Linked DNA regions of Homo sapiens: all the other regions are linked to region 6. The links are contacts of gene promoters, found by promoter capture Hi-C in blood cells and fetal thymus (Javierre and others, 2016). All regions are on one chromosome and are shown on one strand. The core of a region is centred on a gene start or on the middle of the fragment in contact, and the rest is flanking DNA. Distances in the headings are between cores, read along the strand shown. Region 1 overlaps FKTN-AS1 (FKTN antisense RNA 1). Region 2 holds the start of ZNF782 (zinc finger protein 782). Region 3 has its middle 6.3 kb from the start of TMEM38B. Region 4 overlaps TMEM38B (transmembrane protein 38B). Region 5 overlaps FSD1L (fibronectin type III and SPRY domain containing 1 like). Region 6 holds the start of MRPL50 (mitochondrial ribosomal protein L50). Region 7 overlaps TDRD7 (tudor domain containing 7).

Region 1 (3,350 bases), core at 753-3,252, 4.2 Mb before region 6:
CCACAACTAACTTTGCAACTTTTTAAACTCTTCATCTCTAATGGTTCTCGTACTTTTCTTATAAGTACCTTTTCATACTCATTTCATATTTATTTTGGTTTATATATTTATATAATTGGTTTACATACTTACATGACTACAACAGTGACTACCACCTACATAAGCAGGTTTGGGAACAAACATAACTGAAGGTAAATATACAACTAAACTGGTGGCAGTGTTACTTATCAAGCATACTGAAAGGTCAAATGTGAGCCCTCAGCTCATGGCAAACGTCAAGTCAGTATGCTTTAATCTGGATAGCAAATACAGCTGAAAGAGTGGGTACAAGGATGCATAAAAACAGCCTCTCTTACAAGTAAATATTCATGTTCTATAAACCACTCAGCTGTGCACACATGTAAGGATCCTGGCCGACTCCTAACATTTGTAGGGTCTGGGCCAAGAATACAAATGAAAGCCAACCCTGACATATTTTCAGTGTCTAAATAGCTGAGCGTTAACCAACAAATAAAATGTTATACTCTTCTACTTTAACATGTATTCTCAAGGAACAGAAATCTAGGTTCAAATATGCGATTCGCAGATTCTTCAGAAGTGTACTAGAAAGTGATACTAGGTTGGCCTGCCCTTCCCTGATCCCCTGGGTCTCTTTTTACTTCTAGCTTAAGCCTGCCACAGGGGCCTATCATGCATGCATGTGGACAACTCAGTCTGCACATCCAAGCTTCATCTGTACTTCCCACAAACTGCCAGCCATAGGGGTATATACATCTGTAGTAGTCTTTTTTCAGGATGGATTTGGACAAAAGGCCTGCACATATCCTGGAAGCAAGCTTCAGGCTGATGAGGCAAGGAATCCTGGGGTTCTGGCTGATAACATAGTATAGAATTCTGTGGGTAAAGGAACATGGATTCCAAGTAGGCATAGTCCCTTGGCTCCTCAATTTTTCATCCCATGAAGAGAGGCACAGCAAGAGTGTGGGGATCCGGTTAGTTAGCTTACCTTAGGTAGGTAACAAGAGAAGGGTCCTGGAGAGCCCCTGGCTCATGAGTCAGTGCCTTATCCCCAGATAATATAAAAAGCAGCCTGGGAAAAAAGCTGCAGGCACCAATAAGGGAACTAGCACAGGGTGTTGTGCCTGGAGACATGCCCATGACTGCACAGATGGAAAAACCTACGGCCCATTTGGATAAAAACTTGCACAAACCTCCAGCTCACTCAGATAAGGGAACAAGGCCTGGCATAGAAATGCCTTGGTCCTTTGTATTGTCAGCAGGTTCCCAGGAAAAGTTTATTCCCCTTTTGTAGGCATGGGCACAGTGGGCTCTGGTAAGTTCCTATGGGCGCTCTACTTTCCTTTGTTAGGACTGTAAGTCCAGCTGCTGTGTATCATCACCTCAGCCCGATTGGTCCTCGGCCACACTTCACTTCAGCTTCTGATAGGTCCTGGGCCAAGCTAAGCAGCATCTATGAATCATTTCACCTCCTGACTGGTCCCGGGCCAAGCCGAGTCACGCATTCGCCAAGACAGCCCCCAGACTAAGCACATTCCTTCCCCTTCCGTCCATAAAAACCTGGACCCCAGCCTCATGATGGGCACTCCCGTTCGGGACCCCCTCTCTGCTGGCAGAGAGCTTTCTTCTTTCACCTTATTAAACTTTCACTCTAACCTCACCTTTGTGTCCGTGCTCCATAATCGTCTTGGAGGTGGGACAAGAACTCCAGGTGTTATCTCAGACAACGAAAGACTGTTTCAATAATGTAGTATATAAGTGGACAAGAACTCCAGGTGTTATCTCAGACAACGAAAGACTGTTTCAATAATATAGTATATAAGTGGGTAATGAAACATGCATTCCAAGTAGGCATAATCCCTTGGCTCCTCAATTTTTCATCCCATGAAGAGAAGCACAGCAAGACTGTGTGGTGATCAGGTCAGGGTCCCCTCTTACCCAAGTATACATGCATGCACACACCCGTTGTATCGTACTGTATATATTGCTGGATGACTTTTTTGTTTAATATCATGAATACACTTCCATTAACAGCATATCCTTTAACAGCTGTGTAGGATCACATGGAAATACCAAAATCTAACCATCTGCTCTTGTGCTGACCTTGTGCAAAAATAAATAAATACAAATACACCATGCAGTGTAAGTGTAAAATGGGGTTTAGTAGAAAAGTAGAGTGCACATAATATCCTGAGCTCTTATGCCACAGAACTCCCAGCCAGGCACAAATGAACTGGTATACCAAGGAAAAGGCTCTAATTAAGCCAATTGTCATAATGGTCTATATAACATTTATTGGGGAGGGGAATGTGCAGAATATATAATATCTAGACCACTACTTATATGGTAGTTTGCTGGTGCAGCAAGTTAGAAAAGGGGAGCCTTCAAAATTCTGTTATCACATTCTTTTGTTGAGGCAACTTGGGCCTTTTGAACCAGTTCTGTGCCTTGCTACCAAAAAAGGAAAAGGAATTTACCTCCAAGTCCATCCAAATTTGTAGGTCTTCAATTAATAATTAGGTTGCTACTATTAGCTATGGTAATGCTGCAAGGAACATTGGCTTTTTTGTGAGTATATATGTAAGAGAAATACTTATAAAGGAAATTAAGGAGCATGTGCATTTAAAAATCTTAATATTGCTAAAATTGTTCTCCAGAAATGCTGCACCCATTCACTCTCCATCTTCTATAGTGGTTTATCAATCTTTGTCCATTCTTCTTCCTGTGACTCAAGACTATCCAGTCTCCTTTCATTCTTCTTACATAACTTCTTAGTTACAGGCGCTCCAGTCTCACTGATTTTTTTTCTTTTAAACTGTTTTCAAGTTAGAGCAAGAATTTTAAAAATGTTTAGGTTCTGATTCTGACTCTTAGTTACCATCTACCAAAATGTAACCCAACATGTAGCAAGATCCAAAGAAACCAAATTCATAAGTAATATTATAGTTACTAACATAGCATGTTTCATTTTCCATCTGTAGGTACACTGTTCAAAACAGTGGCTATTAGCAATATGCAACTCTATGTAGCCACATATAAAGTGCTCAGTAGCTGCCTATGGCCAGTCACTACTGTATTGGACTGCACAAATAACTTTTCATAATTGCATAAAATTCTGTTGAACAGTAGTGCTCTAAAATGTTAAGCTTTTTAGGCAAAGGAACTATGACTTTTTTTATATTCTCATCCCCAACAGCATATTGTATTTATACTTAAATAAAAGTTAATAAAATCAAACAATGAAGCAAAAGAGAGCAGGAAAAGAGTTTTTAAATTTTTAATGAGATATTCCAGGTGCTTCTGTAAAATCTTAACTGGGACATTCTATATAG
Region 2 (3,368 bases), core at 298-2,797, 4.5 Mb after region 6:
AATGGCATTTGCAGCGACCTGAATGAGATTGGAGACTATTATTCTAAGTGAAGTAACTCAGGAGTGGAAAAACCAAACATCGTAGTTCTCACTCATAAGTGGGAGCTAAGCTATGAGAATGCAAAGGCATAAGAATAACACAATGGGCTTTGGGGACTTGGCGGGGAATGGCGGAGGGCAGCGGGGCAAGGGATAAAAGACTACAAATGGGGTGCAGTGTATACTGCTCAGGTGATGGGTGCACCAAAATCTCACAAATCGCCACTAAAGAACTTACTCATGTAACCAAACACCATCTGTTCCCCAATAACCTACGGAAATAAAAAACAATCAGCAAAAAGCAAGAAAATTCGTTAATGCGCATGGAAACCTAAGATAATTAACATTAAATTTAAATATGTTGAATCAATAAGAGAATTCGGCAAGAAGCAATGTTAAGGGATAAAAACCAAAAGCTTTTCTCTAACACCTGCAGCACCGGGCTCGACCCGCCTTAGAACCCTCACGCCTGGGGGCGCCAGGACAGGGCTCACAGGTCAATGGGTCGGGTAGGCTGTAAAGAGACAAGGTGGAGGTTCCAGGTTGAAAATGTATAAAATTGTAAAGTAAATTCAAAGTTATATCATTTCAATGCTAAATACTTCAGTAGTGATCCCTTTTTTTAAAAAAAAAATTTCTACAAAATTCTTAATTTTTTTTCACAGTTCACAAAAGTAATGGTACTTTTTTTCAATATTTGCAATTCCCAATCCATATTCAGCTTCCCAATTGTCTCCGAAAGTCTTACGGAAAAAAAAAATGTTGGTTCAACCGGGAACCAATGGAGGGCTACTCTTTGTATTTGTCAGTAGCGTTTAAGTTTTAACCTTTAACTTCTCCCTGTTCTTGGAGAGCCTGAGCGGGAGACTTCATAAAAACTCCATCCCCGCCAATTCTGAATCGCCGAAACGTGAGGAGTCACGTCGAAGGCGGACGCAAGAGCTTATGGGAAATGTAGTCCTGAATGAGTCTGGTTCGCCGCGCAGCACTCTGGGATGGGGCTCCTGGGCTCCTTCTGCGCCTGTGCAGCCAGAGCCCCGCCTCCTCATTTGGGTTCTCGAGACTCCCGGGAAGCGGTTTGGGAAGCTCGGGGGTCGGCTCGGAAAGTAGAGGGGGCGCAGCTGGGGCGGGAGGACAGCGTTTGTGCCCGGAAGCGGGAGAGGAAGCGGGAAGTTTGTGGGATCCCCGCCCCCTGTGTCAGTGGATGCGACCGGGCGGGCCCTCGGCCTTCCCGGCCGCTGGAGAGGGACTTCGGCCGCTGGCTCCCGGGGCGGCTGAGGCTGAGCGTTGGTCCGGAGCAGGTGCCGGGTGCGGGCCGCGGTGTGCGGGACCGGAGCCCGGCGCGAGCGGCGGCGGGGGTGGGGAAAGCGCATTTGTAACGCGGGCGACAACGTGCCCGAAATCCCCGGACGGTGGGTCTGCATCGAGACCCCGAGCTCTGGAGCTGGAAAAACCCGGGTAAGTTCCATCTCTGTCAACTGGAAGCCGAGGCGAATGTAGGGACGTGGATGAGAGTCAGGTTTCTCATCTGAAAGTGAGGGTATTAATAATGACTGCTTCATGGCGTTGGTTTAAAACTTTAAGTCACCACCTGTAAAGCAAACAGCCGACTGTAGGCTACTAAGCCATGAGCGGACTGCTGCTGTTATATTTAGAAGACACTTTGTTCCATTCGTTGGGTGCCTATGTATACCTCACAACCACATCTGCATTAAATATAACTGAGGCTCAGGTCACAAGCTAGCAGTGAGGGAGCTGGGGTTCAAAGGCAGGTGTGATTTATTTCCCGTTTCAGGCGCTAATATCACACCTGCCTAAAACCAGCATTGCAGCCTTCACAGCACTTAGCAGAATGTCATGTCCCCAAATACTCAGGGAGTGGATGTAGATGGAATCTTACCATGTGTCAAATGTAGTCTGGATTTCTGGTGTGTCTTCAGATCTCTTGGGTCAGACAGGTTCCTGGCCCCTTCTGCATTGTCAGGGTGTCTCTCTTTTAAGTCTGATGTAAAGAATTCTAAGAGTCAGATTTTTGCCACTAACATGGTTTCTCAGGTCAGGTCGCAGGCTCCTTGAACAGAGCAGCCCTTGCGAGGTGGGAAGCAGGGGTCTCTGTGAACAGTTTTACCTGGAAGAGAACACCTCTCAGACCTAGGCCTCCCTCCCGAGCTTCAGAGCAGAGGCAGAAGAGCCCACAGAGGAGCAGATCCTAGATGTGTATGGTCAGAAGCAGTTCTTGATCCTCCTTCCCAGAATGAGCCAGACTTGGTGAAGCCTCCAGAAGCCACCACACAATGGGTGACAGTGGGTGGTTTGGGCCAGCTTTGAGAAGAGCAAAATGGGCTAGGTGGTGGCCAGGGACAGGCTGCTCAGGAAAGGCCACATCATTGCATAGGTCTGAGGGTAGGGGTAACCGGAGATTCTGTCCCCAGATCCCAAAGTAGCCCCCAGTCGCTTTGTTCTCCACTCTTTACAGATGCCATACTGCTGTTAACATATGTGACACTGGAGACTTTGTCCCTACCTCATAGAATCCCATGCATGATGATACATGAAGGGTTTTCCGTGGCTATCTACTTCTGATTCTTTTGAAAGCTTTAAAGACATTGGGCATGAAAGGTTCAGTGAGTTTCCGGGGATCCCTCGTTTGTGGTAGAGCCAGGAGGAAAACAGTTCCGTTCATTCTTTCACAGGTGAGTCACCAAAAGCATCTTATCCAAAGGGCCTTTTGAGAAATACATCCCAGTTAAAACATCTAAAACTCTTTGCCTTAAAGTATCTCATCTCTTTTATAAGACTTTCTGTGGATTGTCTATACCAAGGGTAAATAATATTACTAAGAAAAATAGTTAAATGATGCACACTGAATATTTTTCTGCTAAGTTAATTTTGTGTTTTGGAGACAGAGTCTCATCCTGTTGTCCAGGCAGGAGTGCAGTGGCACAAACATGGCTCACTGCAGCCTCTACCTCCTGGGCTCAAGTGATCCTCCTGCCTCAGCCTCCCAAGTAGCAGGGACCACAGGCGCATGCCACCACACCTGGCTAATTTTTTAAGTTTTTATTTTCTGTAGAGACAAGGTCATGCCATGTTGCCCAGGTTGGTCTTGAACTCCTGAGCTCAAGCTGTCCTCCCTCTTTGGCCTCCCGAAGTGCTGGGGTTACAGGCTTGAACCACAGTACCTGCTAGGTTAATTTTAATGAAAGAATAGTGTCTTACCCTGTGGTGTACTTTAATTCAACTAATCCTGTATTGTCTTTATTTTTGTGTGTGTGTTAGAAGCACATGTGCATTGTTAAATCAATTGGGAAAAGTTTATGTTCACTCAA
Region 3 (3,074 bases), core at 229-2,728, 4.3 Mb before region 6:
CAGGTGGGTGTGCACTTCTCTCAGTCACTGATGATACTCAGTGCCAACATCTCTTAGCCTCTGGGTCCCCCTATTGAATATTGCCAGGAGAAAGACCCTGTCCTGGCCTGGGACAGCTGTACACTCCTGGTTAATCAGTTCTGATGGGAGGCCGGGTCACGTGGTTCAGATCTGATGCATCCCTACATATCAGAGGCAATTTCCTGAAAAAGGAAGGAGCGGCTGGGTGCAGTGGTTCACACCTGTACTCCCAGGACTTTGAGAGGCCAAGGCAGGAGGATCGCTTGAGCCCAGGAGTTTGAGACCACCCTGAGCAACATAGTGAGACACTGTCTCAAAAAAAATAAAGAGAAAGGAGGGAGCTAGGCAGACATCCCAAGAGATGTCTAGTATAATCATTTTCTTTAACCTGTTTATTTTATTTTATTTATTTTTTAATTTATTTATTTTTCTTTTTTTGAGGGTGAGTCTTGCTCTGTTGCCCAGGCTGAAGTGCAGTGGCGCGATCTCAGCTCACTGTAACCTCTGCCTCCCAGGTTCAAGCGATTCCATCCTCCTGAGCAGCTGGGATTACAGGCACCTGCCATCACGCCCGGCTAATTTTTGTATTTTTAGTAGAGATGGGGTTTCACCATGTTGTCCAGGCTGGTCTCCAACTCCTGACCTCAAGTGATCTGCCTGCCTCAGCCTCCCAAAGCACTAGGATTACAGGCGTGAGCCACAGCGCTCGGCCAACCCATTTATTTTAAAGTAGGAAACTAAGTGCTAGAGAGGTCACCATGGGCAGTGACAGACCAAAATTTGTTACTATTCTGTTACAATCAGTCTTCCCTATGTACTCCTACTAGGTTTTCTCCTGTCTAACAGAACCCAAATACTTCTTTTGAAGTTTTCCTTTACAGAGAGATTCAGCATCCCTACAGCAATGAAAAGGCCACCCACCAGATAAGGGCCAGGAAGACCAATTAGTAATCATTAGTAACCCCATCCCATTCTTTGACATTATCTCAGCAGATCCCATTGCTTTGTTGTCATTTAAGATTTCTTTTTCTTTTTCTTTTTCTTTTTTTTAAGACAGAGTATCGCTCTATTGCCCTGGCTGGAGTACAGTGGTAGGATCTTGGCTCACTGCAACCTCCACCTCCCAGGTTCAAGTGATTCTCTTGCCTCAGCCTCCCAAATAGCTGGTATTATAGGTGCCTGCTGCCATTCCCAGCTAACTTAAGATATTTTTTAAATAAAATAAAAAGTCCAGTCCAGTTAAAACATCCATCTTACATGCAATATAGAACTTCTTTCCTCCCATTTGCTCAGGACTGCCTGTCTCAGAGACTTTGATGGGGCAATGGGCATGGTGGAGTCCTCCAGCCTTTCTTCATCTTCTGCTCCTTTCATCTGCTATGTCTTCTAGGGTTAGGGCAGTGAGGAGGGAAATTAGAGAAAAGGAACAGAAGACTTTCTAGTTGGCAAATGTTGGTCATAGTTTTTGTTTTTTGGTTTCTTTGTCTTGGTTTGCTTTTGGCTATTGATATTCTTCTCTATGGCAGGCTGTCAATGCAGACTCATTCATGGGGTTTATTTGTGGGTTCCCCAATGATGCCATGGAGCTCACACAGCAAGATCTCCTAACCTCTACAGTTAAGGCAGACACCACTGGTTGAATAACCCAGCACACATATTCAACTCTGTGTATCCGGTTAAAACATTAGATATAGTTTGTTCAGCCTCTCAGCAAGGTGTGAACTTGTGTTAGGATACTGGCAAATAAAACTTCAGGGGACCTAGGTTGACATGCTTCTGAAAACAAAGTAAGGAAAAACAAAGTTGAAGGACTGACACTGTCCAGCCTCAAGATTTACTATAAAGCTACGGTGATAATCAAGACGTACGATATTGGTGAAAAAATAGAAAAATAGATCAATGAAAATATGTGGCTTCTCTGATAAAAGGGACTATGCCCTTGACATTGGCCCTTCTCCTTGTCTTTCTGCCTAGAGCTAGGGCAGCCATGTTGTGACCATGAGAGAAAATAGCAGATCATTGAAGTTATCAACTGTCCTTCTCAGACTTCCTGTTACGTGAAAAAATAATTTCTTATCTGCTTAAATAGAGTCTGAATTGGCTTGGGGGAAGTTAGCACCTCTTTCTTCACAGGGAGAGGAGTAGGAAGGCAAAGCCTCTAGCCCTCTGAATTCCCTTCCATGAATTTCCCTTCAAATTCTTGACCTCTTGGATTGTTGAAAGTGAAGTTCACTAGGCCAGCTGTTATATTTTATTAAGTCCTGCATAGACAGGGCTTAATTGTCTTTTCAGAATGTAGAAGTAGCATCTTTTGTCTTAGGGGATCTAATGGAATTTCACGATAAATTAGCATCTTGTTATACTAGATGACAGGCAAAGGAAGGAGATTAGAAAATGGGGTGGATGACGCCAGGTGTGGTAGTTGATACTTACAATCCCAGCACTTTGGGAGGCCAAGGTGGGAGGATTTCTTGAGGCTAGAAGTTTGAGACCAGCCTGGGCAACATAGTGAGACCCCATCTCTACAAAATGTTTAAAAAATAGCCAGGAGTGGTGAGGTGCACCTGGTCCCAGCTACTCGGGAGGCTTAGGTGGAAGGATCACTTGAGCCCAGGAGTTTGAGGCTACAGTAAGATATGATCGTACCACAGCACACCAGCCTGGGCAGCAGAGCAAGACCCTGTCACAAAAAAGAATAAGATGGATGGGTGAGGTTTGAAAGAAAATGCACATGGCTGTGGCTGGGAACCCACAAAGTGTCGGTTATCTGTATAGATGGGTTGATCAAACCGAAACACTAGCAGTGAGAACACATGTACTTGATATATGGGCAAATAAAAAGAATCGTACCTAGGGATTTATAAATGTGTCCAAATACCAGAGCATGCATGGTCAGGAGGGTCCGTAGACACAGAGAGGGAAAATGCAGTTGCAGGTGGATTAACAATCACCAAGCGAAATTATTCCAACGTAAGCTGTTTCCATGCGACAATTGACAATAAATACAGACTTCCTTGGTTGAGTCCAAACTTGTCTAGCTTTCATACAGAATG
Region 4 (3,242 bases), core at 194-2,693, 4.3 Mb before region 6:
AAAGAAGGGCAGTTCAAGTGACAAAGGGGTGTGTGGAAGGTGCTGCAGTATGAATACTGTACAAATATTTTGACTCTGGTCTGAAAAGATAAAAGAATGTTATCGAAAACTACATGGAATAATTGAAGTCCCCTCAAGTTTGAAAGTAAGCATTTTAGGACAAATAAAAGGACATTCAACTTTGTACTTGCGGAAACTAATCCCTAAATATGAATAAGCGTATATTGATTCATGGGTAATAGGTCCATAATAAATTATTGGAAACTAGGATGTCTGAATATCAAGGAAGACAGCCGTAGTCTCTTACAGTGCCTCTGTTGGTCTGCCTCAAACTGATTTAGGTGGGAAAAGTTATGGTCCAATATAAAAGTTCCATTTTCGCCATTATTGGCAAATCTTGCCTTTGTTTATTTTGGTGTCAGTGTTTTCTGCTTAATCATTGGCTTTGTTGGCATCTGCGTTTATTTACTTGTACACCACATGCAGTTTACATCTTCCTTAACTACTCTCCTTCCCAGGTAAATTCCAATTATATTCGACATCCAGCTAAGAGGGCCCATCTCTTCTCACCTCTATCCTAGTCAGTATGTTCAGCAAATATTTATTGAGTGCTGACACTGTGGGCAAAACATTGTACTGGTTAATTGAGGAGAAAAGTAGATAATTCCCTTATTCAGTAAATGTCTACTGGGTACAATCTAGTGAATGATTACAGTATGGCCTAATTGTCTTGTTTGAGATGTATTATTCGTTACAATATTTTACACCATTCATATCTTAATATAATTATAGAACCCAATATACTATCAAAGATAAGTAATTGTGTGGTTATATGCCATTTAAAATTATCCCGTGTTTGTCTGATCCCATTATTACAAATAATTAAAAAATGATTTGTTTTAATCTGTAATAAACTGATTTATTGTGCAGTGACTGTAATATACTGGAGTTATATTAAATTGTTTACTCAGCCTCACCAAACACATACTAGGAAATAACCCCCAAAATAAGTATTTAACTTTGCATTAGATATAAACGAGACTGGGTGCTATAATTAGATTATTTTAAGGTAGACAGCTATTATCCCAACTGATGTAGTATGTTCTGTAATTGAGAAAATGTTCACCAAATTTTACTTTTTAGTGATTTACATGTACATTTTATAGGGGACATGTTCTATGTATAGTGAATAAATAACTTTGACAGTAAAAAAAAAAAAAATAGCCAACGTGGGAAACATAGTGAGACCTCATCTCAACAAATATAAAAATTTTAAACATTAGCCAGGGGCCAGGCATGATGGCTCACTCTCTGATGGGCTATTATTCCAGTATAGTTAGAGCAACATAAAAAAAAAAATCAACAGATAACATGTTGGATAGCAATAATTCTAAGAAGAAAAATAAAGAAGGATGATGTGATAGTCATGGGAGAGGAGGTGCTACTTTAGTCAGGGAAGGCCTCTCTGATAAAACAAAATATGAGACTTCTGAGGAAAAAAAGATTACAAAGAGAAGAAAGAAAGTACAAAGGCATTGAGGTAGAAGAATACCTTACGTTGGAACATTCAAGAAATAGCAAAGCTCATGTGACTAGAGCAAACTGAGCAAGAATAGAGTTGTAAGACGTTACATAAAAGAAAGTGAAAGCGAGTATTTTGCAGGGTTTTACAGGCCATGGTAAAAGTTTGGGATATTGTTCTTAATAAGATAAGAAATTACTGAGCACATGAGTGACATGTTCTAACTTAAGTTGTCCCTCAGTATCTGTAGGGGACTGGTTTCAGGATTCTCCTTCAAAATCTGTGAATGTGAGAGCCCCTATATAAAATAGCAGAGGATTTGTACATAACCTACACACATCCTCCACTACACTTTAAATCATCTCTAGATTATTTATAATACCTAATACAGTGTAAATACTATACAAATAGTTGTTACACATTATTGTTATTTGCATTATTTTTATTGTTGCATTGTTATTTTTTATTGGATTTTTTTCCAAATATTTTTGATCTGCAGCTGGTTGAATTCAAGCATGCAAAACCCATGGGTATAGAAGGCCAACTGTAATAATTTTGTCTGCTCCATGAAGAATAACGAATAGACTCAAAGGGATAATCAAAGAAGCAGCAAGACCACTTAGGAAGCTCCTGCAATCATCCAGGAGGTTAGTATTATAGGAACAGAAGTAGAAATAACAGAAAGTATCAAATTCTGGATATCTTCCTTTTTGTATAGTTTCAGCATCTATACACATCAAAAAATTCTTCCAAAATGCTAATAACTTTTAAAAATATTGTTATAGAAATAAAAGTCTTTGGGAAAGTTTTTTAAAACACATAGCAACTGGAAGACTACACTTTAAGAGATGGTTAAACAAATCTGTGAGAGATAGTGGCTACAAAGTGTGAAGACTCTAAAGTTAAAAACTTCTTGTTTTGATTCTAGCTCAACCACTTACTAGACAAGAAAGTTATAGCAGCATTTCCCTATGCCTCAATTTTATCATTTGTCAAATGGAAATAATAATAGCTACCTTATAGTACTCCTCTGATTAAATATAACAATGAATATAAAGAACTTAACTGACATATCGTAACAACTCAACATTGCCATAGGTTCCCAGGATTACTTTTTCCCATTGCTACTATTATTTGTAATATCCCTTTTAGAACTGGTTACATATTCATTTTAAAATTATCACAATAAAAATGAACTGTAAGTGTTCCTGTTATATATTTAATGATATGGTTCTTAACAGAAAACAGTTTCTGCTTTATACATTAAAAAAACTATAATTTTTATTATAGATTATTTTAAACTTGATGGATCAATCCTCTTAAGGATAACGAATTTGGATTTGCAAGAATTCAAGGCAATTCCGGGTAACATTTTTTTCTTCACTTCAAAATTATAAAATTTAAAGATCTCATAAAATCAACAGAGTATGAGAAGAATAATTAAATATGAGCCATAATTATTTGGACTTTTTGGTTAGTTTCAGTTGGTCACATACATGATTTTATCATGTTGTATATCTGCGTGTATCAGTTAGGTTCACAAGATAAACTCTAGGGCCAAATACTTAATGCCCTTTCATATTGGAAATGCTTCTATTAAAGATACATAAGACAGGCTGGGCATGGTGGCTCACGCCTGTAATCTCAGCACTTTGGGAGGCTGAGACGGGCAGATCACTTGACATCAGAAGTTTGAGAACAGCCTGGCCAACATTGTGAA
Region 5 (2,995 bases), core at 247-2,746, 4.1 Mb before region 6:
AATTCAGGAGGTTGTCCCCAGAACCTCTGCTTTTCAAATCCAGGAGGTTGCCTCCAGAGCCTGTACCCTAGGCTGCCTAAACTGTTGGGGATTGTATGAAATAATCATAGGGTTCCTGCAACCAGAGGAAAGGGATTGATCAAATCAGCATGTAACATTCCTGGAAAATGCCCAATAATGCCACCAGAAATGATGCCACTTGCATCATCCCACACATAGACCTGTCCTTTGAATTAGGTGACTTCATGCTGAACCCCTCCATCGACTCCAGTGGGGATGGCACCAGGTTCAAGAGGCTGAAGAAACCCAGAGCCACCAAATGAGGCATGGTATTTTATTAAGGGATTACATACAAGGGAGAGAGTCCAGTGGTGGCAGGCTGAGCAGGAGAACTGCCTTATATACAGAAAAGGTCCAGTGGCAGTGGGCTGGACAAGGTAACTACACAGCCCAGTGAAGCTCAGAAGACACATTCAGGTGAGTCTGCCATACAGGATCATTCTAATAGTATGCTTAAACTACTGCTGTTAGGTAGGTTTACCATACAGTGATAAAGAGCGGAATCAAGAAAGCGCTATCCAGCTGTTAGCTAGATAATCAGAATCTCACCAGTTATTTTAACAAAAGTATCATGCTCAGATGTGATGCAAGAAGGTGAAAAAAAGAGAACTGGGAAATTCAGGAATCTAATCATAATATACCTAAATGATGGAAGGCTACACCCTCTCTAACAGTGAAACAGTTGAGAACACTACCTGTACACAGATGTAACTGAGACAGCCTACAATCAATTCTGATTGTCTAGCTTACCAGCTGAGAAAAAGTCTAAATGCTAGTAAAAGAACTGGCTGGGGAATGCTGCCTTTCTGCCCTGAACCCAGTTTAAGATATCACAGCATATGAGGAGGTAATCTCCCATCTAGGATTTGAGGAAAATAAAGCACACCAGAGGATAAAGAAGCCTTAACCATGTGCAGTGGCCTTTGAACTGGCTGTTTTACCCAGTAAAGTCAAGGAGGCTCATAGTCGGCCAAAGAAACCAGAGGTCCTACCATTTAATGAAAGAAGGTGGCATTGGAGTGGAGATGCGAGTATTAGTATAAACTAACAACCCTTCTCAAGGGCAACTTGACAATATGTATCAAATAAAATTTTTGAAATAGATATACATTGACTCAGTAATTCCATTTCTAATTTATTGTAAGTGAATAATTAAGGGTGTAAGCAGAGACTTGGCTACAAGGATGCTTATCTGTGATATTTATAACATTAAAAGGTTGGGATCAACAAAAAGATACAACAAAAGGGTACTGTAAAACATGCATACAAAAGAATTCTGTTGAATCATTAAAAGTATTGTAGAATGATTAATATGGAAAAATATCCATAATTTATTATGTGAAATGCAAATTATAGAGCAGCATATATAGCATGATACCATAATTTTAGAAAAGTTTTTATATGCATACCAAAAAACTAGATGGTGACATAAATGTTGAAGAGGTTATCTCTGGGTGGCAGAATTGAGTGGTTTTTATTTTATTTTCACTTTATTTATATTCTTATTTTCCTACAATAAACTTGTATTACCTATATTTATAATGCAATAGAAATGCAAAAGCTGGCTACGTTAATACTTTTTTAATAAATTAGTTCAAAATTCAATTAACAGCAATCAACAAGCATCAATAACTGAAACCAGATTCTATCAGAACCTTGTGGCTGGGAAGAAGTGCCAACAAAGAGTGAAAAACATATTTTTAAAAGTCTGGAGATAAAATCCACCAACTTTAAAATATTTTCCACCCTAAGAGTAGAATATCTAGCACTACAGCAAACATTCAATATGTGTTTACTGTATAAATAATCCTGCTTACATTCAGCCACGCATTGCAAACAAGCACTATGTTAAAATTTTTTTAAAAAAAGGTCTGCTTCACTATCTTTCTAATTTTTAAAAACTGCCAAGTTCAATTGAAAAATGAATGTATCTGTATTATATATAGTGGTCATAAGTATGTCAATATGGTATTCATTTCTACTTTCTTGCTCACAGTTCTACTATAGAAAGCTAAGACATTCCCTCAAAAGAGTTGAAAAAAGGGGAAAGATACATGCAGACAGACATGCACACACACGCACACACACACACACACAAAATAAAAATAGTAATTTTAGGCCAGGCGCAGTGTCTCCTGCCTGTAATCTCAGCACTTTGGGAGGATCATCTGAGGTCAGGCAGGAGTTCAAGACTACCCTGGCCAACATGGCAAAACCCCATCTCCACTAAAAATTTAAAAAATTAGCTGAGTGTGGTGGCGGGCGCCTATAATCCCAGCTACGAGGGAGGCGAAGACACAAGAATCTCTTCAACCCAGGAAGCAGAGGTTGCAGTGAGCCAAGATCATACCGCTGCACTCTAGCCTGGGTGGCAGAGCAAGACTCTGTCTCAAAAAAAATTAAAATTAAAATTAAAATAGTGATTTTTATTTGGGGCAACAAGAGAGACCAAATTCCAGGTTTTTACCTAAATCATGTTCTTTATCATCTATCAACTATTTTCACTACACTTAACTAGCTTAACAAAAAAAAAAAAAAAAAAAAAACAACTTTAGGTCAGACGTGATGGCTCATACCTATAATCCCAGCACTTTAGGAGGCCAAGGCGGGTCAATCGTTTGAGCCCAAGAGTTCAAGGCTAGCCTGGACAACATGGCAAAACCCTGTCTCTACAAAAAACACAAAAATTAGCCAAGTATATGGTGGCATGCACCTGTAGTCCCAGCTGCTCAGGAGGCTGAGCTGGGAGGATAGCTTGAGCACAGAAAGCAGAGGTTGCCATGGTGAGCCATCAGCCTGAGCAAGACAGCAAGACTCTGAGAAAGAAAAAAGAAAAGAAAAAGAGAGGAGAGGAGAGGAGGAAAGAAGGAAAGAAGGAAGGAAGGAAGGAAGGAAGGAAGGAAGGAAGGAAGGAAGGAAGGCAGGCAGGCAGGCA
Region 6 (3,265 bases), core at 93-2,592:
TTCTCTGAGCTGGGTCCAGATAATCCCACTCCTCCTGGGTAAAAAACACAGCCACATCCTCAAATGTCAGCAACCCCTGAAATAGTATGATTTCTGTAGTCAGTTCCTGTTGTCTCAAGGACAATTCTACCACTAAAAGTGACAGAGGCAATCACTTATTGTGGCCAAGTAGGCTAGGAGGAACATGATAACTGAAAGTTCCATATGTTGCCCAATTCTGGGAACGAACTGTAACTGACAGACATCTCAGACTAGAAAGGACCTACGGATAAGGCTTTTCTGATTTATTATGCCCTGAGAGTTTAATTTTAGTAAACTGCCCCAAGGCCTCTCCAAGCTTCCCTCACCTCATTGCCTACTTCAATTTTCCATTTGCACTGGCTTGTGACTCTATTCAATTCAATTCCTTGAGGTTCTCTAAGCGTGTACCTTGGGGTCCAGGCACTGTGCCAGGAACAGAAGACACAAGGGAAGGTCAAAAATGGTGCTTCACCTGGAGAACTCACAAATGAGAGAGCTAGTCTGGAGCATTACTTATTTTCTCAGGCCGATTTATCAAGTCTCTCTAGAAAAAGAAAAAAAAAAAGGGAGCCAGTGGGCAGTTTGTTCGCGAACCGCACCCCAATGCACTAGTGGGGAGTTCCTTGCAAGGCGCTGGCCCTAAAGAGGCGGTCAGGAGGTTGGTGGGGGGCCTGGGGGAGAAAGCAGTGGTGCGGCCTAGCTGGGGTAGCGGCGAGACAACCGGGATCCCCGGGGGGGTGCTTACTTACCTTCGACTCCGGCGGGGGGCTCGGGGAAGCCATCTCCCAGGCAGAGAATAGGGGCAGGAATTGGGGGCGGCCTCACGGAAAGGAGCCTCTGGTGAGGCCTACCCGGCTGCTGGAAATTAGGCTCGACGAATACGAGGATCCCTGGCTGGGTCTGGCCAGTGCCTGCCTCGGCCCCCAGACGGTCACGACCCCAACAGCATATCAGACGCGATCCCTGGCTGTCCCCCAACCCCGAACCCCAACCCCTACTCCTGCCTGGTTACGCAGCCTTTCAGGCCTCGCTAGAGCCTCCTCCCCGCTGCCAGTTCCTCCTCCTTGCAGCCAAGTAACGCTATGACCGCCCGCCCCCGGACCAGAAGGCGTCACCCAGATTCTTCCCGAGGCCCCCTCAACTACAACTCCCGTCATGCTCGGAAAGAGCGCCGCGGTCCAGACGCCGCCAGCAACAGCTACTGGACTACATTTCCCAGCGTGCAAAGGGCGAGGGAGCCTACAGGAAAAAGAAAGCTCTTGCCACTGGGATTGTATCCGATTGGCTGGTCTGGGCGCGTCACTGCTGGCTGAAGGCTGCGCTCAGGCCCGTGGATCTCATCGAAGATGGCGGCGCGATCTGTGTCGGGCATTACCAGAAGAGTCTTCATGTGGACAGTCTCAGGGACACCATGTAGAGAATTTTGGTCTCGATTCAGGTAAAGCTTTATGGTGGACGGTGGGTCATGTTCAAGGAAAGTTAAGGAGGATTAGGGACGAATTCAAAATAGAGTGTTACGCCATCGTGGTCCCGCGCCTGATCAGAGCAAGGACAAGGAGGTCCGGTTAGGGTCCCGAGTTGAGAAGCACTCATTGAGTGGTGGGACCCAGTCTCTTCCACTCTCGGCCTTAGTTTTCTCATTTTATAACGGAAATACCACCCCCTTTCCTTTTCACTTCACTCATTCATTTATTTATTAAGCAAGCAGGATTAACCTCGTGTGCGAGACACCGAGTGTGTTGTCTGCAAACACATGAAAGCGCTTGGTAAACTAAACTCATTTGCCGGCTGTGTTTCTTCACAAGCAAGGTTCAGTAATGAAGTACTGCCTCCTCCTTTTGTTTGTTCATTCATTCAGTCATTCAACAGATTTCTTAGGGCCAGCATTACTCTAAGCGCCTAGGATACAGCAGGAAAAACAAAATCCATTCTCATCCTCGAGGTACTCCAACATATGAGGAAACAGGCCCACAGGAGGGAAGTGATTTTCCCAAAGTCACAAAGCAAGTTAATTGCAAAGCTGGATCTAGAACATATGTCTCCTAACTCCCCATCTACTGCTTTTTCTGCTGCACGGCTGCACCATGTGTAATTGTTTGAAGGTAAATCTAATTTGACTTAGATAGTGTTTAGGAAATCAAAACGTATGGTAGGAACCCTAGGGAGCAATGTATGCTCTCTTAGGTTTAAAACAAAAACCACTACAATTAGGAAAGATCTTTTTCATCAGTTCAGATATTAGCTTTCCCTCTTCTTTGGTCAATATTTGTTATTATCTCTCAAATCTCTTCCAAGTTTGTTTTATTCATTCACTCAACAAATATTTTTTAGGCTGTTTACTATATGCCAGGCTATATCTTAGGTGTTGTAAGAATACAGTGGTTACTAAAACAGACCAAATTTTTGTTCTCGTAGGGCATATGTTCTAATGGAGGAAGAAATGAACAAATGTGTAATGTAATTTCAGAAAGTGGTAAATTATGAAGAAAACTAGAGGAAATAGATTACTGAGAATGATGATTATATTTTCTTTACTATTTTAAAAATTTTATATATTTAAGATATACAACTTGATGTTGATTATTAGTCAAGATAATTATCATATTCATCTCTTCACATACTTTCTGTTTTGTTTTGTTTTAGAGAAAGGAGTTCTCACTATGTTGCACAGGCTGGTCTTGAACTCCTGGACTCAAGTAATTTTCCCACCTTGGCCTCCCAAATTGCTGGGATTCCAGGGGTGAGCCACCACACCTGGCCAGTTAGAATTTTTGTGTGTGTGGTGAAAACACTTAAGATTTACTCTCAGAAGATTTCAAGTATACAGTACAGTATTATTAATGATCGTCACCATGGTGTACATTAGATCTCTGGAACTTATTCATTCTACATAATTTAAATTTTACCTTTGTCCAACGTCTCTTCATTTCCGCCACCCCTGGTAGCCACCATCCTACTCTCTGTTTCTATGAATTTGACTTTTTTTTTGTTTGTGTTGGAGATGGAGTCTCACTCTGTCTCCAGGCTGGAGTGCAGTGGCGCTATCTTGGCTCACTGCAACCTCCGCCTCCCAGGTTCAAGCGATTCTCCTGCCTCAGCCTCCCGAGTAGCTGGGACTACAGGTGCCCGCCACCACGCCCGGCTAATTTTTTTATTTTTAGTAGAGACAGGGTTTCTCCATGTTGGCCAGAATGGTCTCGATCTCTTGACCTCATGATCCACCTACCTCAGCCTCCCAAAGTGC
Region 7 (2,902 bases), core at 268-2,767, 4.0 Mb after region 6:
GAAAGTATATCATAGGAATTTCAACTGGAGTGCAGTGGCGCAATCTTGGCTCACTGCAACCTCCGCCTGCCGGGTTCAAGTGATTCTCCCGCCTCAGCCTCCTGAGTAGCTGAGACTATCTTTTTTATGCTTTCGTGCTTTCCTTTTTTTCTTCGCTTATACCCAGTTAATCTTAATTATCCAAGACACTAATAATGCACATGAGGTGGGGTGGGGAGTTGGGGAGTGATGACAATCTTTAGGGAAACAAAATTTAAATAATTTAAGTGGCCTAAAATAATTCTCACTCTACTTCAAAACTGCATTTTGTAAATTCACAGCTTTTCTCTTTACTATACCTGAAAATGGCCCAAGGAAGTCCTATTCTGAAGAACCTGGTTTTGGTGTATCCCAGATAAACGCCTTCTACCATTGATTGATCCTCCCTGGCTCAGTCATTTGCATGTTATCTGCTTCCTCTAACTACTGGTGTCAAAGGCCTTTAGCTGAGCTAGTCTGGCTTCCATCCTATGCCTTCTCTTTTCTAAGTTTCTTCTTGCTCAACTATTTCCAACTGTATGATTTGGCTCATCTTCCTTACTACATTTTTCATGTCATCAGTTTAAGTTGTCGAGTGGCACTAAATCTTAAAACAAATCAGAAGAATTATTAGGGTAAACTGAAAACACCAAGTAATCTCTCTTAGCTTCTTTTAGTTAGATGTTCAATTTTGAAGTATCTGGATATCTCTTTAGGGCATATACTTCTAATAACTAACTGCCCTTCTCCTTGAAGACACTATTTTAGCAACAGCGGGAACTTAAAGTCCCATAATGTCTGTGCTGACACATTTTAGGCATCGTCTAGGCTAACCCAAGCTCCTTATCTTACAAATCAATAAACTGAGCCTCAGAGGGAAAATTTTTTCCTAAGATCTTTACCCAATAAATGATTTCTCACCTTGCGACACTTTTAAATGCTCTTTTCTTTCTAATCATAGTCTGTTACCACTTCAATTACTCCTTCACCAACCGGTTTTTAAAGGAAAAAGATGATTAATACCCTCAGATGATGGTATACTTCCTTAAGAGTTTTTTTCAGGGAGTTATCTTTTTTATTCTTGTGATCTCAAGTTCCAAATTATTCGTGCATTTTAACTGCATACCACGAATGTACGTAAGTAAGGGATTTCCATAAGTCTACATACTAGACGAAAAAACCCTGAGATAATAAAGTGGCTTAGTAAGGAGTTTGTGTCTTAATCCTAGTTCCGCTACTGATTACCTGTGACAAGTCACTTCAGGTCTCTTTTTTTCACAAGGAAGATAAGAAAGGTGGGCAAGAGCCATGATTCTCAACTTTCCTTGGATTCACTGAAGGCTGAAATAAGGTCCAAATATGTAATGAAAACCGAGTTTGCTTACTCATGACAAAGCTGCACAGGCTAAAATGCCAAGCTTACTTTGAAGTCACACTGGGTAGCTTGCACTGATCAAGTTCTGATTGGCATATATACATGTCTTCAACTAAAAATTGCAAAATTAATTACTTTTAGTTTGAAAGACAAAACTGTAAACATATTTGGCTTACAGGGAAATAATGACAAGAATGAAGCTTTCAAAAGTACAGAGGTGGGAGTGGAGGGAGGAAAAAGCAGGTTTGGCACAAAGAAACAACAGTTCACGTAAATATAAAATTTCACCAAGGAACTTCTGTGAAAGTGTCCAGATGCAAAGCACTCTATGTCAAATCTCAATTCTTGAAAACAGCACTTGACAAACACAAATTAGGCACTCGGGGTTGGATTATATTTTTTCTTTATATTCACATTAAGTATCCAGCTAGATTATATTGCACAGAGAACTTAAAAGAGGGGTTCTGCAAGGAGTTTAAAATCTCTTGATGCACAATACAATAGTTCATTCAGCCATGTTCAACCTGTACACTTAAAAGGGCATTAGCAGGGGATTACACTTCATTTTCAATCTACAGAGACTGAAATCTGAAGGCACTGCCAACTGCTGCCTCACAGTCTCACCGTGCAACTACCAAAGACGGAGGCTGTGTGCCACCAAAGGGCCCTGGATTGGGGCACAGGAGATGTGAGTGCTAATCCAGCTGGCCCCAGGGGCAATTCCCTATACCCAGAACAGTACTTTGCACGTAACTGATGCTCAATGAATGTCAGCTGAGAGGAAATGCAAAAATATCCACCATGTGCCCATTTATATTATATAGTAAACACAAAGATCTTTGTGTCCCTGCCCTCAAAAAACTAAAATCCAATTATGTAAAACATGGACCGTTTGTTGGGAGGAAGAGAGTGAATACTGCTTGGCAATTATTATGAGGCAAAGGATATACAGTGGTTATCTTGGAAAAGCCTTGCAAAGTAAGCCAGGTACCTCTATTTGACACATAGAAAACCAGGCTAAGAGAAAGCATGTAATTTGTTCAAGATCACACAATTTGTAAAATGAGAAGCCCAGATTTCAATCCAGGTCTGCAAAGTTCACATTATTTGCAGTATGCAACACATTCATACACATCAAGGCAGCCCAGGACGAGACAGGGATTTGGGTCCAAGTTTTACTTCTGCTATTAAGCTGTTGCCTATCTCTCTAGAGAGAACATTTCTCTGCATTTTTTTCACCGGCACGATTGGAGAGCAGAGAGGTGTTGGTAGGAGGGTTAATGAACTAGATCTGTGGTTTTTTGGTTTGGTTTGGTTTGGATGGGCGGTGATCAGAATTCTTCTGGGCCAGGACTTGTTCTAATGTGGTTGTTTCCCTTCCCTGCTCTTAGAAATTATTTGAGAATGGTACCTTTAGCTATTAATGGAAATATACCTCTCAAGTGAATGGGAGCAGAAAGATATGCCGGCTCCAAGCTCCCTCCTAGCAAGCTGAAGCTGAGAGTCTGA

What was found. The method cuts DNA at HindIII sites, captures the fragments that hold promoters and counts their contacts. A CHiCAGO score of 5 or more calls a contact.
Region 1: a contact is called between a fragment that was not itself captured here and the fragment with the promoter of MRPL50 in region 6, in 1 of 17 cell types (activated CD4 T cells). The highest score is 6.3, in activated CD4 T cells.
Region 2: a fragment that was not itself captured here is called in contact with the fragment with the promoter of MRPL50 in region 6 in 1 of 17 cell types (total B cells); the score reaches 6.9 in total B cells.
Region 3: a contact is called between a fragment that was not itself captured here and the fragment with the promoter of MRPL50 in region 6, in 3 of 17 cell types (naive CD8 T cells, total B cells and total CD4 T cells). The highest score is 9.4, in naive CD8 T cells.
Region 4: a contact is called between a fragment that was not itself captured here and the fragment with the promoter of MRPL50 in region 6, in 3 of 17 cell types (total CD4 T cells, total CD8 T cells and naive B cells). The highest score is 9.0, in total CD4 T cells.
Region 5: a contact is called between a fragment that was not itself captured here and the fragment with the promoter of MRPL50 in region 6, in 1 of 17 cell types (activated CD4 T cells). The highest score is 6.3, in activated CD4 T cells.
Region 7: a contact is called between a fragment that was not itself captured here and the fragment with the promoter of MRPL50 in region 6, in 1 of 17 cell types (total B cells). The highest score is 8.1, in total B cells.

What each region holds. Positions count from the first base shown.
Region 1 is chr9:105,552,363-105,555,712 of GRCh38, reverse strand. FKTN-AS1 (FKTN antisense RNA 1) reads left to right here. Exons shown (of 3, transcript NR_184141.1): 3 at 1,370-1,678. It overlaps FSD1L (fibronectin type III and SPRY domain containing 1 like), which reads right to left. Exons shown (of 14, transcript NM_001145313.3): 14 at 3,280-3,350. Among named protein-coding and RNA genes, the nearest start is that of FKTN, 4.1 kb to the left of the region's middle. The HindIII fragment of the contact is 2,328 bases long and covers 839-3,166 here.
Region 2 is chr9:96,852,217-96,855,584 of GRCh38, reverse strand. ZNF782 (zinc finger protein 782) reads left to right here and starts at 1,071. Exons shown (of 6, transcript NM_001001662.3): 1 at 1,071-1,497; 2 at 2,516-2,732. RefSeq lists silencers at 1,299-1,368, 1,649-1,738. The HindIII fragment of the contact is 2,179 bases long and covers 458-2,636 here.
Region 3 is chr9:105,686,667-105,689,740 of GRCh38, reverse strand. No RefSeq gene overlaps it. Among named protein-coding and RNA genes, the nearest start is that of TMEM38B, 6.3 kb to the left of the region's middle. The HindIII fragment of the contact is 8,166 bases long and covers 1-3,074 here.
Region 4 is chr9:105,706,972-105,710,213 of GRCh38, reverse strand. The region is part of intron 2 of TMEM38B (transmembrane protein 38B); the gene reads right to left. LOC107987107 (a long non-coding RNA gene) reads left to right here. Exons shown (of 4, transcript XR_001746868.2): 2 at 2,022-2,169; 3 at 2,813-2,887. It also overlaps the pseudogene LOC100421293. Among named protein-coding and RNA genes, the nearest start is that of TMEM38B, 14 kb to the right of the region's middle. The HindIII fragment of the contact is 7,200 bases long and covers 1-3,242 here.
Region 5 is chr9:105,452,656-105,455,650 of GRCh38, reverse strand. The region is part of intron 1 of FSD1L (fibronectin type III and SPRY domain containing 1 like); the gene reads right to left. Among named protein-coding and RNA genes, the nearest start is that of FSD1L, 6.1 kb to the right of the region's middle. The HindIII fragment of the contact is 5,463 bases long and covers 1-2,995 here.
Region 6 is chr9:101,396,695-101,399,959 of GRCh38, reverse strand. MRPL50 (mitochondrial ribosomal protein L50) reads left to right here and starts at 1,342. Exons shown (of 2, transcript NM_019051.3): 1 at 1,342-1,459. The coding sequence starts at 1,368. ZNF189 (zinc finger protein 189) reads right to left here and starts at 1,109. Exons shown (of 3, transcript NM_003452.4): 1 at 771-1,109; 2 at 1-76. The coding sequence starts at 803. RefSeq lists enhancers at 1,109-1,638, 1,171-1,699, 1,700-2,229. The HindIII fragment of the contact is 1,128 bases long and covers 340-1,467 here.
Region 7 is chr9:97,412,887-97,415,788 of GRCh38, reverse strand. The region is part of intron 1 of TDRD7 (tudor domain containing 7); the gene reads right to left. Among named protein-coding and RNA genes, the nearest start is that of TDRD7, 2.2 kb to the right of the region's middle. RefSeq lists enhancers at 2,847-2,902, 2,711-2,902. The HindIII fragment of the contact is 157 bases long and covers 1,439-1,595 here.